2 separate regions of the Homo sapiens genome follow, and region 2 is linked to region 1. The links are contacts of gene promoters, found by promoter capture Hi-C in blood cells and fetal thymus (Javierre and others, 2016). All regions are on one chromosome and are shown on one strand. Each heading gives the region's core, a stretch centred on a gene start or on the middle of the fragment in contact. The rest is flanking DNA. Distances are from core to core; before and after follow the strand shown. Region 1 holds the start of RNF17 (ring finger protein 17). Region 2 has its middle 72 kb from the start of CPAP.

Region 1 (6,811 bases), core at 2,563-5,062:
AGAAATGTTAACAGAGAATGAATACCTTTTAAAAGTCATTCCAATGCTGGGAAAACTAGATATCCACATGCAGAAGAATGAAATTAGATCATTATCTCACATTATATGCAAAAATCAACTCAAAATAGATTAGAGATTTAAAAGACCTGAAACTGTAAAACTGCTAGAAGAAAATAGTGGGAAAGCTCTACGTCACTGGTCTGGAGAATGATTTTTTTGGATATGACAACAAAAGCACAGGCAACAAAAGCAAAAATAGACAAACAGGATTACATCGAACTATTAACAGAAAACTCTGCATAGCAAAGGAAACAGTCAGCAAAGTAAAGAGCCTATGGAATGGGAGAAAATATTTGCAAACTATACATCTGGTAAGGGGTTAATATCCAAAATACATAAGGAACATAAACAACTCAGTAGGAAGAAAACAACTCAAACAGAAAGTGAGCAAAGGACCTAAATAGACATTTCTCAAAAGATGACATACAAATGGCTAATAGGTATATGAAAGCATGCTCAATGTCACTAATCATCAGGGAAATGCAAATTAAAACCACAATGAGAAATTACAGACGGTATTAGAATGGAGATTATTTAAAAAAAAAGACAAAAGATAACAACTGTTGGCAAGGATATGGAGAAAAGGGAACCCTTATACAGTTAGTGGGAATGTAAATTAGTACAGCCATTATGGGAAACAGTATAAATTATTTGTTGTGTATATTTTCGAGAAGGTAACTGAATGGGTTAACTTAGTTAAATGTTGAAATACGTCTATTCAATAGATTAATTTGGTTTTAGAATATTAAAATTCTGGCTTGGTGTTATTCTATTAATCCCACTCTTATGGTGGGAATAAATATGTTATATGTTTCTATTCAATAATTTGGTTTTAGAATATTAATATTTTGGCTTGGTGTTATTCTATTAATCCCACTCTTATGTTGGGAATAAATATGTTATATGCTTAACAACAACAAAGAAACCTAACTTTGACCATGGATTTGATTTCAGGTGCACAGGGCTAAGGGCAGCCTGCAGGTTAGCTCTGTGACTGCATAGTTCTACATTCTTTCTCTGATCTGCTGCTGCTATTTGATCTCTGAATTTCTCTTTAGTTTTGGTGAAACTTTCTAAAAGACATTCACTGTGGGTCAGATGCAATTTATAAAAATTGTGTATTCAAGAAGGGAGCCCTGTTTATCTCATTTCTCAGCTGTTTAGGAGATGATTTTAGAGCACTAGAAAGGCACTGGTAGAGAGGCAGGCAGAGGGCAAACCTCCAAGGCCATTAAGGTTTTGTTGTAATTCATAGGAAGCCATTAAAGGGTTCCAAACAAAGGATTTAAACAACCTAAATTGAATGTTAAGAAGACATTTCTGGCTGCTCTATTTGAGGGTTCTTGGTAAGTGCTAAGAAATGAACAAATGTGGTATAATCATCTATCAGTGTATTTCTCACTGGCCCTGATTTATCCAAGATTAATTCAATTTCTGGGATTACCAAAGGCATCTCTGATGAAACTCAAGACCCACATTAAATATCCACATTATGGCCCACGATGAACACCTATGCAATGAGATTGTCATTATTCAAATTACAGTACAGCTATCCTAGAGGAAAAAGAGGCTTGCTACATGCTAGAATAGCATTAAGTGTGGAGAGAAATGTGAAGGTTTAAAGGAGAAAGTGCTTCTAAAGCTGATCCAGGAAGGATAAGGAGAATATGGGCCGGACGCGGTGGCTCACGCCTGTAATCCTAGCACTTTGGGAGGCCTAAGGCGGGCAGACTGCCTGAGCTCAGGAGTTTGAGAGCAGCCTGTGCAACACAGTGAAACCCAGTCAATACTAAAATACAAAAAATCAGCTGGGCGTGGTGGCATGCGCCTGTAGTCCCAGTTACTGGGGAGGCTGAGACAGGAGAATTGCTTGAACCCGGAGACCAAGGTTGCAGTGAGCTGAGATCTCGCCATTGCACTCCAGCCTGGGCGACAGAGCAAGACTCCATTTCTAAAAAAAAAAAAAAAAAAAAAAAAGAGAATATGAATTGATGAAGAGTGAACAGTAGGTATTCCAGATGAGGGGAATAGGGAATAATACTCACAAAACTGTAGAAGAGTCAACATGTTACATGAGAATATTGGCTTGATTAGTACTCAGTTCCATCATGGATTAGTAGTGGAAACTATTGGATGAGTAGTAGAATGAGGGTAATTTAGGGAAGCAGTACTTTTCTCTCGAAGACAACAAATTACAAAGATTTTTGAGCCGAAGTGAGCCTTTCAAGAGAATACTTACTTCACAGTTTCTAGTTACCCACACACAGTGTAGAGAGAAAAGAAAATGAGGAATATGGGCAGGCTTTATTCTTAGCAGCAAAAGGCAACCGTGCCACCTCCAGGTGTTTTGTTTGAAATACACCTGCCACCTTTCTACTAGATTACTTCATTCCTTGCTCACAAAACGTCTCATGCACTCTACTGCTTAAAGAGTAAAGTCCAAACTCCTCAGCCTTACACTCGAGATTCTCCGAAATTCTTCCCTGACACACCTCTCCAAAGAAGCTTACTTTAAGGAAACTCATACTCTGGCTAAATGGTCTTTAAATTCTCAAGAAGTCACTGTGTCTTCCATCTACCTTCCCTCACATCTACCTTCCCTCGCTGATGTGTTCTTTATTCTTGGAATCCCTTAGTTCTTGTTTACTCCTGTAAGTACTACCTAGGTTGTAAGGTCTAGTGCAAACCCTATATCCTCTACGAAGAGTTTTCATACCACCGTAGACCATATTGACTTCATTTCTTCATTGCTTTTTGTGAACTATGCTTGGACAAGTTGCTTCAACTCTTTTTTTTTTTTTTTTGAGACGCAGTCTCGCTCTGTCGCCCAGACTGGAGTGCAGTGGTATGATCTCGGCTCACTGCAAGCTCCGCCTCCCAGGTTCACGCCATTCTCCTGCCTCAGCCTCCCAAGTAGCTGGAACTACAGGCGCCCACCGCCACGTCCGGCTAATTTTTTTTTTTTTTTTTTTTTGTATTTTTAGTAGAGACAGGGTTTCACCATGTTAGCCAGGATGGTCTCGATCTCCTGACCTCGTGATCTGCCCGCCCTGGCCTCCCAAAGTGCTGGCATTACAGGCGTGAGCCACCGCGCCGGGCCCAGAAGGCTAATTCTTACTGTCTCTAACACAGGTCCGGTACATAACACTTATTTTGGCGGAAGTTACTGGGTTTTTTTAAGGAGTTATGTATCTCTCAAGCAGAAACCTGCTAGTTCATAAATTCTTAGCATCCCCAACCACTCTTGGCACGCTGCCTTGTATATTATTAGGCTCAACAGCAGTTAGTAATGATGAACACTCCTTAATTCGAAAGCGTTCACTGAATCTACCCCAACGATAGCTTCTCATTAGCTTCTCCACTCCAGCTGCTATTGGCCAAGCCCTGGATGCCCGAAGCACACAGGTTTAGGGCTTCTGGCCCTGACACGTAATAGGGAAAGGGGATTGTTTCAATCCAAATGATTATCTATAAAGTCACTCACAATGTAAGTAATAATATGCGAAATTTTAATTTGTGATGACTAAAAGCACTAAAGTGGTGACTCTTTGGGTAGAACGTAAAAACGAACGGTCCTCAACGGCCACAAGGCGCCCCTTCTAGGAGTGGTACCTCCCAGGATAACGGAAAACAGCCCCAGCCCCATCAGGAGCGAGCTTGGGGGCGGGCTTTAATCTCCCGGCCCACTGTTTGGCTATCTGCAGGGGCTGGCCTCCAATGATTGGTCGCTGCCGCGAGGGCCGCCGGGACTCGCACTCGGCGGTTGTTCCAGAAGAAAGAGACAGCGATGGCGGCAGAGGCTTCGAAGACTGGGCCTTCTAGGTCTTCCTACCAGCGAATGGGGAGGAAGAGTCAGCCCTGGGGTGCCGCTGAAATCCAGTGCACCAGGTGTGGAAGGAGGGTATCCAGATCATCCGGTGAGGAGCCCAAGGGCCCACCTAGCGGGGAGGCAGCCTGGAGGGAGCGCTGGGGGCCAGGTGAGCTGGTGGGCGCGTGAGGCTTGGTCAGCTGCATCCAATCCTGGTGTCACCAGAAACTGCGTCACAGGCCTCCCGCGAGCTGCACCCGACCTCTAAGAGGGCAGTGCTTGGGTTGGTTAAGGGCAGCACCTGCGCCTGTCACGGCTTTCTCCAATTACCCATCCAGGCCTCACCGACCCTCCAGCCGGGAGGATGGGGGCCCGGGTGGCTTTAATCTACTCCTCACAAGGCAGGTTAGCGGGTGCATGCAAAAGTAGACATAAAATGTAGCCCATTGTTTTGTCATCAAGAAGGAACGAAACTTGATTTTCTCCTGTAGTTTTTGTTGTAGGAGTAACAAGTAGACCATTGTGAAATGGTTTTGGATTTTGTTGTTGTTGTTAGCATTTTGTTGTTTCTGTGGGGGTTTTTTTGTTTGTTTTTTACATTATGGCTCACACTGGCCTAAAACACTGTTTGGAAAATGATAGTTTCTTTTGTGCACCTTGTGGGGTGTGTGTGTGTGTGTGTGTGTGTGTGTGTGTGTGTTGGTCTTTATACGTGAGGGGAAAAATACACTGCACTATTATTGGTCTGTTCACCTACAATCTACTCAAGTGATCACAGGTTCAAGTTATTTATTATTATTTTTTTCTTTGAGTTGGAGTCTCGCTCTGTAGCCCAGGCTGGAGTGCAGTGGCGCGATCTCGGCTCACTGCAAGCTCCGCCTCCCAGGTTCACGCCATTCTCCTGTCTCAGCCTCTGGAGTAGCTGGGACTACAGGCGCCCGCCACCACGCCCGGCTAATTTTTTGTATATTTAGTAGAGACAGGGTTTCACCGTGTTAGCCAGGATGGTCTCGATCTCCTGACCTCGTGATCCGCCCGTCTTGGCCTCCCAAAGTGCTGGGATTACAGGCGTGAGCCACCGCGCCCGGCCGGTTCAAGTTATTTTAATGTAACTTAAAATACCTTAGTGTGCTCTTAATACAGCTGAGTTGTTGAATCTCAATTCCTGGAGCTACTGAAAATTCGTATTACCTGGCGTAACTGTTTAATGTTTATACTTTCAAAGTTAAGGTCATTCGATCAGTTTTCTCAGTCTTGGCAAGATGGACTCTGTGAGATGTGAGCCTCTGCAGAAAAAGTTGTGATTTCAGTGGAGAACCAAGTTTCTCCTACTTGGGGTTTAGATCACTGCTACCGTTACGTAGAAAATTTCCATTTTTGAATGAAATTAAAATTACGGAATAAAGTTCTAGAACACAACCTTTTAAAATGAGTACTTCTTCCATACATTAGTATTATAATGCTTAGAAAAACTAAACTGGAGAAGTAGTGGTTATGTATATAGAATCCTGAAAGTGCTTTTTAAGCTGTAATTCACCACAAGTTATTTTGAGTTATTCAGTATCAGAAATTTTATAATAGTTAAGTGTTTTTATTTCTTTGGCAATATTATCCCTGGAAGTTAAATAGGGTTTTAAAATTTAGCATGGTTGTAAGCAAGTTTCAGGTATTTCAGTTGGATAGGAAACTTGTAAAGTTTTTAAAAAATACAATTAATGCAAGGCCGGGCACAGTGGCTCACGCCTATAGTCCCAGCACTTTGGGAGGCCGAGGTGGGCGGATCACTTGAGGTCGGGAGATCAAGACCAGCCTAGGCAACATGGTGAAATCCCATCTCTACTAAAAATACAAAAAAATTAGCTAGGCGTGCTGACGCACACCTGTAATCTCAGCTACTCCGGAGGCCGAGGCAGGAGAATAGCATGAACTCAGGAGGCAGAGTTGGCAGTGAACCGAGATCGTGGTCCGTCTCAGAATGAGTGAATGAATGGATGAATAAATAAATAAATAAAATTAATGCGATTATAATTCAGCAAGAACTCTATAATTATTTTGCTAGTAAAAGATGACTGATTTTTATCTAGTTTTTTTCCCTTTTCAGTTTTCTTGCAAAACTTTAAAAATGACAACCTTTTGAAATTATATAGCTAAAACAAATGTTATTTATTATAAACTTCAAATTCTTAGAGCATTTAATCATGATGTTAGGTTTTCAATCAAGTTACGATATTTCCTTTCATAAATGCTAAGTTTGTGAAAATGTGAGTTGTAGATATGTGATAATAGTAGCATCTGGCTTCTGGCCTTGCCAGTGTCTTAAATAATTCTAACAGCACGGTCTTGCCAGTGTCTCATTTTGGCCCTTCCTGACCTCTTCACAGGATGGGAAATATAAAGTAGTAGAGGGCAGTATGATCAATCAGAAAGAATGTTAGACTTGGAAACAGAGCTAGATAGGAGTCTGGATTATACCATTTAGTTAACCAAATCTCCAAAATGCTATTTCATCTCCAGCCCACTTAACTGTGATATTTACAAATAACAAATAAAATGTGTCAGAGCACTTTGTGTAAGATATGGCAGATTCAAAGTATTCTAGGTACAAAATAGCCATCTGAATTAATGCAAATGCTATTACATAGCTCTTCTTGGTTTTTCTTCTTGATTTTTCTCCCTCCTGACCTGAATAGTTGGTTACTCCTGATTTATATTCAATAAGTCAACCATTTCAAACTGTAGTAGGTATCTTTTCCTGTACAGTAGGATCCTCTTTGAATTTCCCTTGTATCAGTATTGCCCATTCAACATTAACACACTGTGGGCAGTTTAATCACAATAGAATTTCTTCAGTAAAATTAGCCGGGTGTGTTGGGACACACCTATAGTCCCAGCTACTTGGGAGGCTGAGGTAGGAGGATCACTTGAGCCCAAGAGGTGGAGGCT
Region 2 (6,811 bases), core at 2,803-5,302, 230 kb after region 1:
GTTGCCTGGGCTGGAGTGCAGTGGTGCAATCTACAACCTCCGCCTCCTGGATTCAAGTGATTCTCATGTCTCAGCCTCCGCAGTAGCTGGGATTACAGGCGTGTGCCACCAGGCCCGGCTAATTTTTGTATTTTTAGTAGAGACGGGGTTTCACCATGTTGGTCATGCTGGTCTCAAACTCCTGACCTCAAGTGATCCGCCTGCCTCAGCCTCCCAAAGTGCTGGGATTACAGGCATGAGCCACCACGCCCAGCCTATCTTATTTTAAATATATGAACAGTCTCCAAAACGTGAGTACAGTTTTTTACTTTCCCTTTGCAACTTGATTTTTTCCAATAAACTCCTCTGAGATCTATTCCAATGAACTAAAGCCAGGCTGATTGATTTATTCCCAGGGTGAAGAGAATAACTCCCCAATCACCTAAGTCACCCTCCAACAATGTCCTCATGAACAGCTCTCTTGATCTAAATGTCCCACGTAAGTAATGCACTGTAAAGTGGCCCATGCCATTGAAACCCCATCTACTCATGAGAAGAATCAGTAATTAAAAGGTCATTCTACTGGAGGATATCACACTATGTGAAATAAGCAAGACACAAAAGGACAAATATGCATGATTCCATGTATGGGAGAAAGCTATGGTAGTCAAATTCACAGAGACAGAAAGTAGATAGGTGGTTGCCAGGGGTTGGGAGGAGAGAGGAATGGAGAGTTGGTGTTTAGTGGGTACAAAGTATCAGTCTTGCAAGATGAAAAACACTCCAGAGACGGATGTTGGGGATAGTTTCACACAACGTGAATGTACTTAATGCCACTGAACTGTACATTTAAAAATAGTTAAGATGGGAAATGTTGTTATGTATATCTTACACAAATATAAAAAAATGAAAACTACCTGAATTATTATCTTTTTTATTTAAGTAAGGTAGTTCTCATAGAGAAGGAGAGCTCAATTAGATTTGACAAATGTCTGTGCTTGGCCTAAAGTAAGTGCAATTTGGAAAGTCATTCCTGAACTCTCATTCCTAAATCATAAAATTCTTAAATGTAAAATCCTGATGTTTCAACATCCTCTAGCAGATTCCCAATATAACATTTTAAAGGTAAAAGTGGTGTTTGACTCCAAATAATTTTTACCAAAAGAAAATTTACATACACTTTTTTGGTATAGAGTTAATATAACCCATTTAGGTATGAAAACTCTTTAAGGTTATTTCATTTTCCCTATTCCCCCTCCTTTAATAAGCAATACATCTAAAAAGTGCCTCAATAGAAGGCTCAGAAGCCCTATGTGAGCTGAGTTAGGCCATGTGAATGCTGAATGCTGTACTGGGAAAGAGAAAAGTCAAACAAAAAGGTAGTAACAATAAAAGAACACCTGGTATTTGTCGGAAATAAGACTTCCTTGCTCCCGCTCTTTTTTGTGACAGGTGTTCACTGAAAGTTGTAGAATTTTAACATTCTAAGTTATCTTATTGTTGTTTTTTTGGTATTACTGAGATTTAGGCCTCTTTGGATGGATCACTATGTCTCTCTTGCACACAAACACAAACACATACGCACACTGCTCCTGCAGCCTGCCCTACACCCACTACTTCACTTTTCCCAAATCCCTAGAGACATTTAGGAAGAAACAGCTGCACGGTAACAGAAGGTGAAAAATGAACCAGGACAAGAACACATCAGGCAGAGCATGAATCTTAGGGATTTAGGTTACATCTCTCCCATCCTCATTCCCAACTGTGACCTTGATTTCTACTTCCCTGAGAAACTGGAACAAGAAATGACCTCTTCTGTGCTCTCACCACACCTCTCCTTCCAGCAATACGCACCCACACGCTCTGCCTTCCCACAGCTTTACTGTTCACACCTGTCTAAAGCCCATCTTATTTGCACCATCGAATACACCCACTCTTGCTTACTCAAGAACACCACTCCAGCAATTCTCTCCTATTCCCTACATCATCCATTTTCCACTCTCTGCAGGATCATTCACACCAGCACACACAACAGGCTGTCCTAAAAAGCGGAACTTTCCCTTGACCACAGATTTCACTTAATGTCATTACATTCCCTTGCAGTAGGAGTTCTTGATAAAAGCATCTGTGCCCACTGCCTCCAGTTCCTCTTCTCCCATCCTCTCTTAAATCCACTACATTCAGGCTTTCACTCTCACCATTCAATTGACGTTGGTCACCCACGACCTTCATGTTGCTAAAATCTACTGGTCCCTTCTTGTTCCTCATCCCAGTTGATCTACCAGCAGCAGGTGGCATTGTAGGTGGCTTCCTCCCCTTGGGACATTTCTTTACCTGGTTTCCAGGGTACCACACTCTGAGTTTCCTGCTACCTCATAGGTCACTCTTTTTTTATTTTGGCTGACTTCCTCCTTTTCTCCCCAATCTCTTAATATTTGAATGTCCCACGGATCTGTTCAAATTTTTTTTCTTTTCTCTGTCTATACTCCACTGATAATCTCATCTAGTCTCATGGTTTTAAATATCAACTCTATGTTGATAACCCCCAAATGTATATGTGCAGCCCACCCACACTTCCTTCTCAAATCCCAAATTCAAACTTCTAACTACCCATTCAGTAACCCCATTTTGTTATCTAATAGATATTTTAGACTTCACATGTCCAAAATCAAACTCCAGGTTTTCTCTTCCACCAAGCCTGTGCCATCCATAGCCAATCAGAGTGGAAAGACCTTGATGAATACTTGAGATATTCCGCAGAGACCCCGCAAGGGCCATACCTTGAAAGCAGGACAAAACTAGCACTAAAGCAAGAACTATTCCAGACTTTTAATATTATTTTAACAAAGTTTATCTTAAATGTTAAAGAAAAAACAAGCCTCTAAAGCATCAAAGGGCTCCATAACTAATTTAACTGCCTTCAAAAAAAACCAAAAAATTTAATGGAAGAAAATAAAATCCAGACACTTAAGAATGTAATAATCACAATGTCCAACATCCAGTCAAAAATGCTGTTCAAAGCAGGAAACTATGATCCATAATCAGGATAAAAGTAAGTCAGTGGAAGCAGACCCAGAAATGACAGGGATTGATGGAATTAGCATGCAAGAACTTTAAAACAGCAATTGTAAATATGTTTAAGGTATTAAAGATAATATGATAGGGAGAGAAATGGAAACCATAATAAAAGAAACAAAACTTGTAGAGCTGAATCATACAATATATAAAATGAAAACTTCACTGAATAAGCTTAGCAGTAGATTACACACTGCAGAATAAAAAATAAAAACTTGAAGACATAGCAATGGAAACTATCCAAACTAAAGCACAAAGAAAAGGCTGAACAAAAAAATAAAGAGAGCCTCAGTTACCTATGAGGCAATATCAAGCAGTCTTACATGCATTATAAGTTGCTTTGGAATTGCGAATAGAGAAAGGAACAGAAAAAGTGGTTGAATAAAGGCAGAACATTTTCCAAACATCAAGATTCAAGAAGCACAACCAACCCAAAGCAGGCTAAACACACACACACCCAAAATACATCATAATCAATTTACTGAATTTCAAGAATAAAACAAAAAAAATTAAAATCAGCCAAAGGTGAAAAACATGTTATAAAGTTATCAAAGGGAAACCAAATAGAGGATGACCATGACTTCTCAGAAAAGCCAAAGGCAATTTGCTGAAAGAAATTCTAAATTCTGTAGCTAGTAAAACTGTCCTCCAAAATGAAGGGGAAAGAGAAGGTTATTTTCAGAGAAAATAGAGATTTTATCATTAACAAACTTGAACCAAAAGAAATAGTAAAGGAAATTGTTGAGGCAGAAGGAGTATAAGAGATGGATAGTCTGACCTACACAAAGGAATAAAGAACTCCAGAAATAGTAATTCTGGTACAAATATAAAATCATTTTATTTTCTCATTTGAATAAATATCTTATTTCTATTTAAAGCAAAACTAACAAAAATTTGTGAAGTTTATAATATGTGGAAGTAAAAATATATGTTAACAGCACAAAGGAAGGGAGGAAGAAAATTAAAGTAGACCTCCTTCTAAACATTTGAGCCAGTCTCTCTCTCTCTTCTCCTCTCTCATCTAGGCCTCCCCTCTTCCTATAGCATGACCATAAGTAGCATCTCAGGAAAAACTCTAATCCAATATTTTTCTCAACCTTAGTTGTAGTTAGGAGGACCTATTTACACATGCTTCCAAGCCATTATCATGATAGCTCTACTAGTCAGAAAAGCCTTCAAGTTAAGCCTAGGAAATAACTGTTTACATCCCACATAATATGGCAAGATCACTGTCCTCTAGGGGGAGCTCTTAGCTAGCAAACGGCCGGTAAAGCAAAGAAGTACATAGTCACTCTCCCCAAACACGAGCGCTCAGTTAGCTGAGCTAATAGCTCTTACAAGAGCACTTAAATTAAGCAAGGGAAACGTAGATAACATCTATACTGACTCCAAGTATGCTTTCCTGATTTTCCATGCTCATGCTGCCATTTAAAAGGAAAGGCATTTTCTTACCACTAATGGAGTTTTTTATAAAATATCACCAGGAAATTAGCAGATTATTAACCTCAGTTTTTCTACCATGAGAGATAGCAGGTAAGTATTGTAGGGAACATCAAAAGGGAACGGATGAGGTAGCTGAAGGAAATAGATTAGCTGATCAGGCAGCTAAGTCAAAGGCAAGGAAGCCTCAAGGCACTAATACACTTCAAGCCTTTCTAGTCTAGGAGGGCTCCATAAAAGAAATTAAACCTCAGTATTCTGCTGCAGAAATAGAATAGGGCACTTCTCAAGCGCATACTTTTCAGCCCTCAGATGCCTACAGTCAGGATGGCAAACTCTATTTGCCAGCCTCCAGCCAATGAAAGTCCTTAAAATCCTTCGCCAAGCTTTTCACTTGGGAAAGGATACAACTTATCAATGTGCTCAGAGATTGTTTTCAGGCAGAGAACCTCTAAATTGGTTAAGAATGTAACCTCTCGGCCGGGCGCGGTGGCTCACGCCTGTAATCCCAGCACTTTGGGAGGCCGAGGTGGGCGGATCAGGAGGTCAGGAACTCGAGACCATCCTGGCTGACACGGTGAAACCCCGTCTCTACTAAAAAATACAAAAAATTAGCCGGGCATGGTGGCGGGCGCCTGCAGTCCCAGCTACTCAGGAGGCTGAGGCAGGAGAATGGCGTGAACCCGGGAGGCGGAGCTTGCAGTGAGCCGAGATGGCGCCACTGCACTCCAGCCTGGGCGACAGAGCAAGACTCCATCTCAAAAAAAAAAAAAAAAAAAAAAAAGAATGTAACCTCTCTAGCTCATTTCCAACAGGAATTAACACAGCTAGGAGAAGCCCAACTCCAGGAAATAAAACCACCTTTATATAATCCAGGAATTTAGGCATTAGTGAAAACTCTCATCTCTTTCCTTCCCTAAGCCAAGCTGGGAAGGGCCCTACACTGTTCTTCTTTCAACCCTCTGGGCAGTAAAAGTTACAAGAATCAACTCCTGGATACATCACACTCAAGCCAAAGCCTGAAGAGCCAAGGGAGCAACCCCTGACAGCCCAGAGGAAGAAATAGAAGATATTACACTAAAAATCATAAAAGGTAAGTAACTGAGTGAGGGCTCCTCATCTTAGCCCAACCTTTACATCAACAGATGCTTTTTGTCATTTCTGCCCTTTCCTCTCAAAATTTGCCCCCAAATATTAGAACTTCTTTTTAATGCATATTTGCAGGGAAATTTTGATTATACATGGGATTCCATTTGTAACCTTGTAAATCCTCGAAGGGAAATGTTATATCTTGGCAAGTAAAGTTTTAAACGAAAATTATTTACTACCCCACTCTTGTGGAAATTGTTAGAGTCATGCCACTATTTGCAATTGGACTATACAGTGTGGAATTCTGGTTGTAAAATTCTAATTGCTGTAATATTTTGGCTGATTATCATCCTTATAACAGGATTAATAATTGCAGGAGAAATTTAGTCAAGGTTGTTTTGATTACAGCAGGAGTAATAGTTACAGATAAGAAGTAAGCATAAAAGTTTTGCTATCATTAAGTTTAATAGGACTTTTTACTAAAGGTTGGTAATATAATGCACTGTAAGTTATTTTAAAAAGGTTATAAAGAAAGAAATTTTATATAAGAAAGGATTTTGTTTTGTAAATACTTGTCCTTGAAGGAAATGGCTGGTTGTTTAAATGAAGGATGTTTAAGACAAGTCATAAAGTTTAAGTATGTTGTAAGAGGGTCTGTGAAAGTCATGAAAAAATTTAATAAAGAAAAGGAATTGTCAAGATTAATGCTAAAGTTATTTTAGCCACCCAATGTATTTCTCCCAATCATATTGAAAGTTATAAAAATGGCCTAAGGCAAGTTCTTCTCTAATGGCAAGTCAAGAGGGAAATGGATGTATTTTTCAAGGAAAATGTTACTTTTATATTAACGTTTCTGGTAATGTACAGCGACATCTAGTGCAGACAAATCGGTATTGCAATCCATTGGTGTAACTAACAGGTACCAAACTCTATTGTCAGTTAAGGTCTATAGGACCCCCACTAACGGTGGTAATCTTAATGCTCATATTCTAACCCTATATTTTAAATCTTCTTGTAAAATGTATCTCTTTTCGCCTAGAAGCAATCAAACTCCAAATGGTGCTGCGAGCAGAGCCAAACATGGACACGCCGTTCTTCCAAGAACCATTAGATCAACCTCAGGAGAAGGCCCAGCTGCTGTTCCTCCACATGACGCCCCTTTTCAGTGGGAAGTAGCCAAAAGAATCATCGTTCAACACCCCCTAACAGTAGTTAGGTTTGCTTATCT

Evidence for each region. The method cuts DNA at HindIII sites, captures the fragments that hold promoters and counts their contacts. A CHiCAGO score of 5 or more calls a contact.
Region 2: a fragment that was not itself captured here is called in contact with the fragment with the promoter of RNF17 in region 1 in 1 of 17 cell types (megakaryocytes); the score reaches 5.0 in megakaryocytes.

The regions. Positions count from the first base shown.
Region 1 is chr13:24,760,357-24,767,167 of GRCh38, forward strand. It overlaps RNF17 (ring finger protein 17), which reads left to right and starts at 3,813. Exons shown (of 36, transcript NM_031277.3): 1 at 3,813-3,977. The coding sequence starts at 3,848. The HindIII fragment of the contact is 5,895 bases long and covers 2,564-6,811 here.
Region 2 is chr13:24,991,107-24,997,917 of GRCh38, forward strand. No RefSeq gene overlaps it. Among named protein-coding and RNA genes, the nearest start is that of CPAP, 72 kb to the left of the region's middle. The HindIII fragment of the contact is 1,652 bases long and covers 3,227-4,878 here.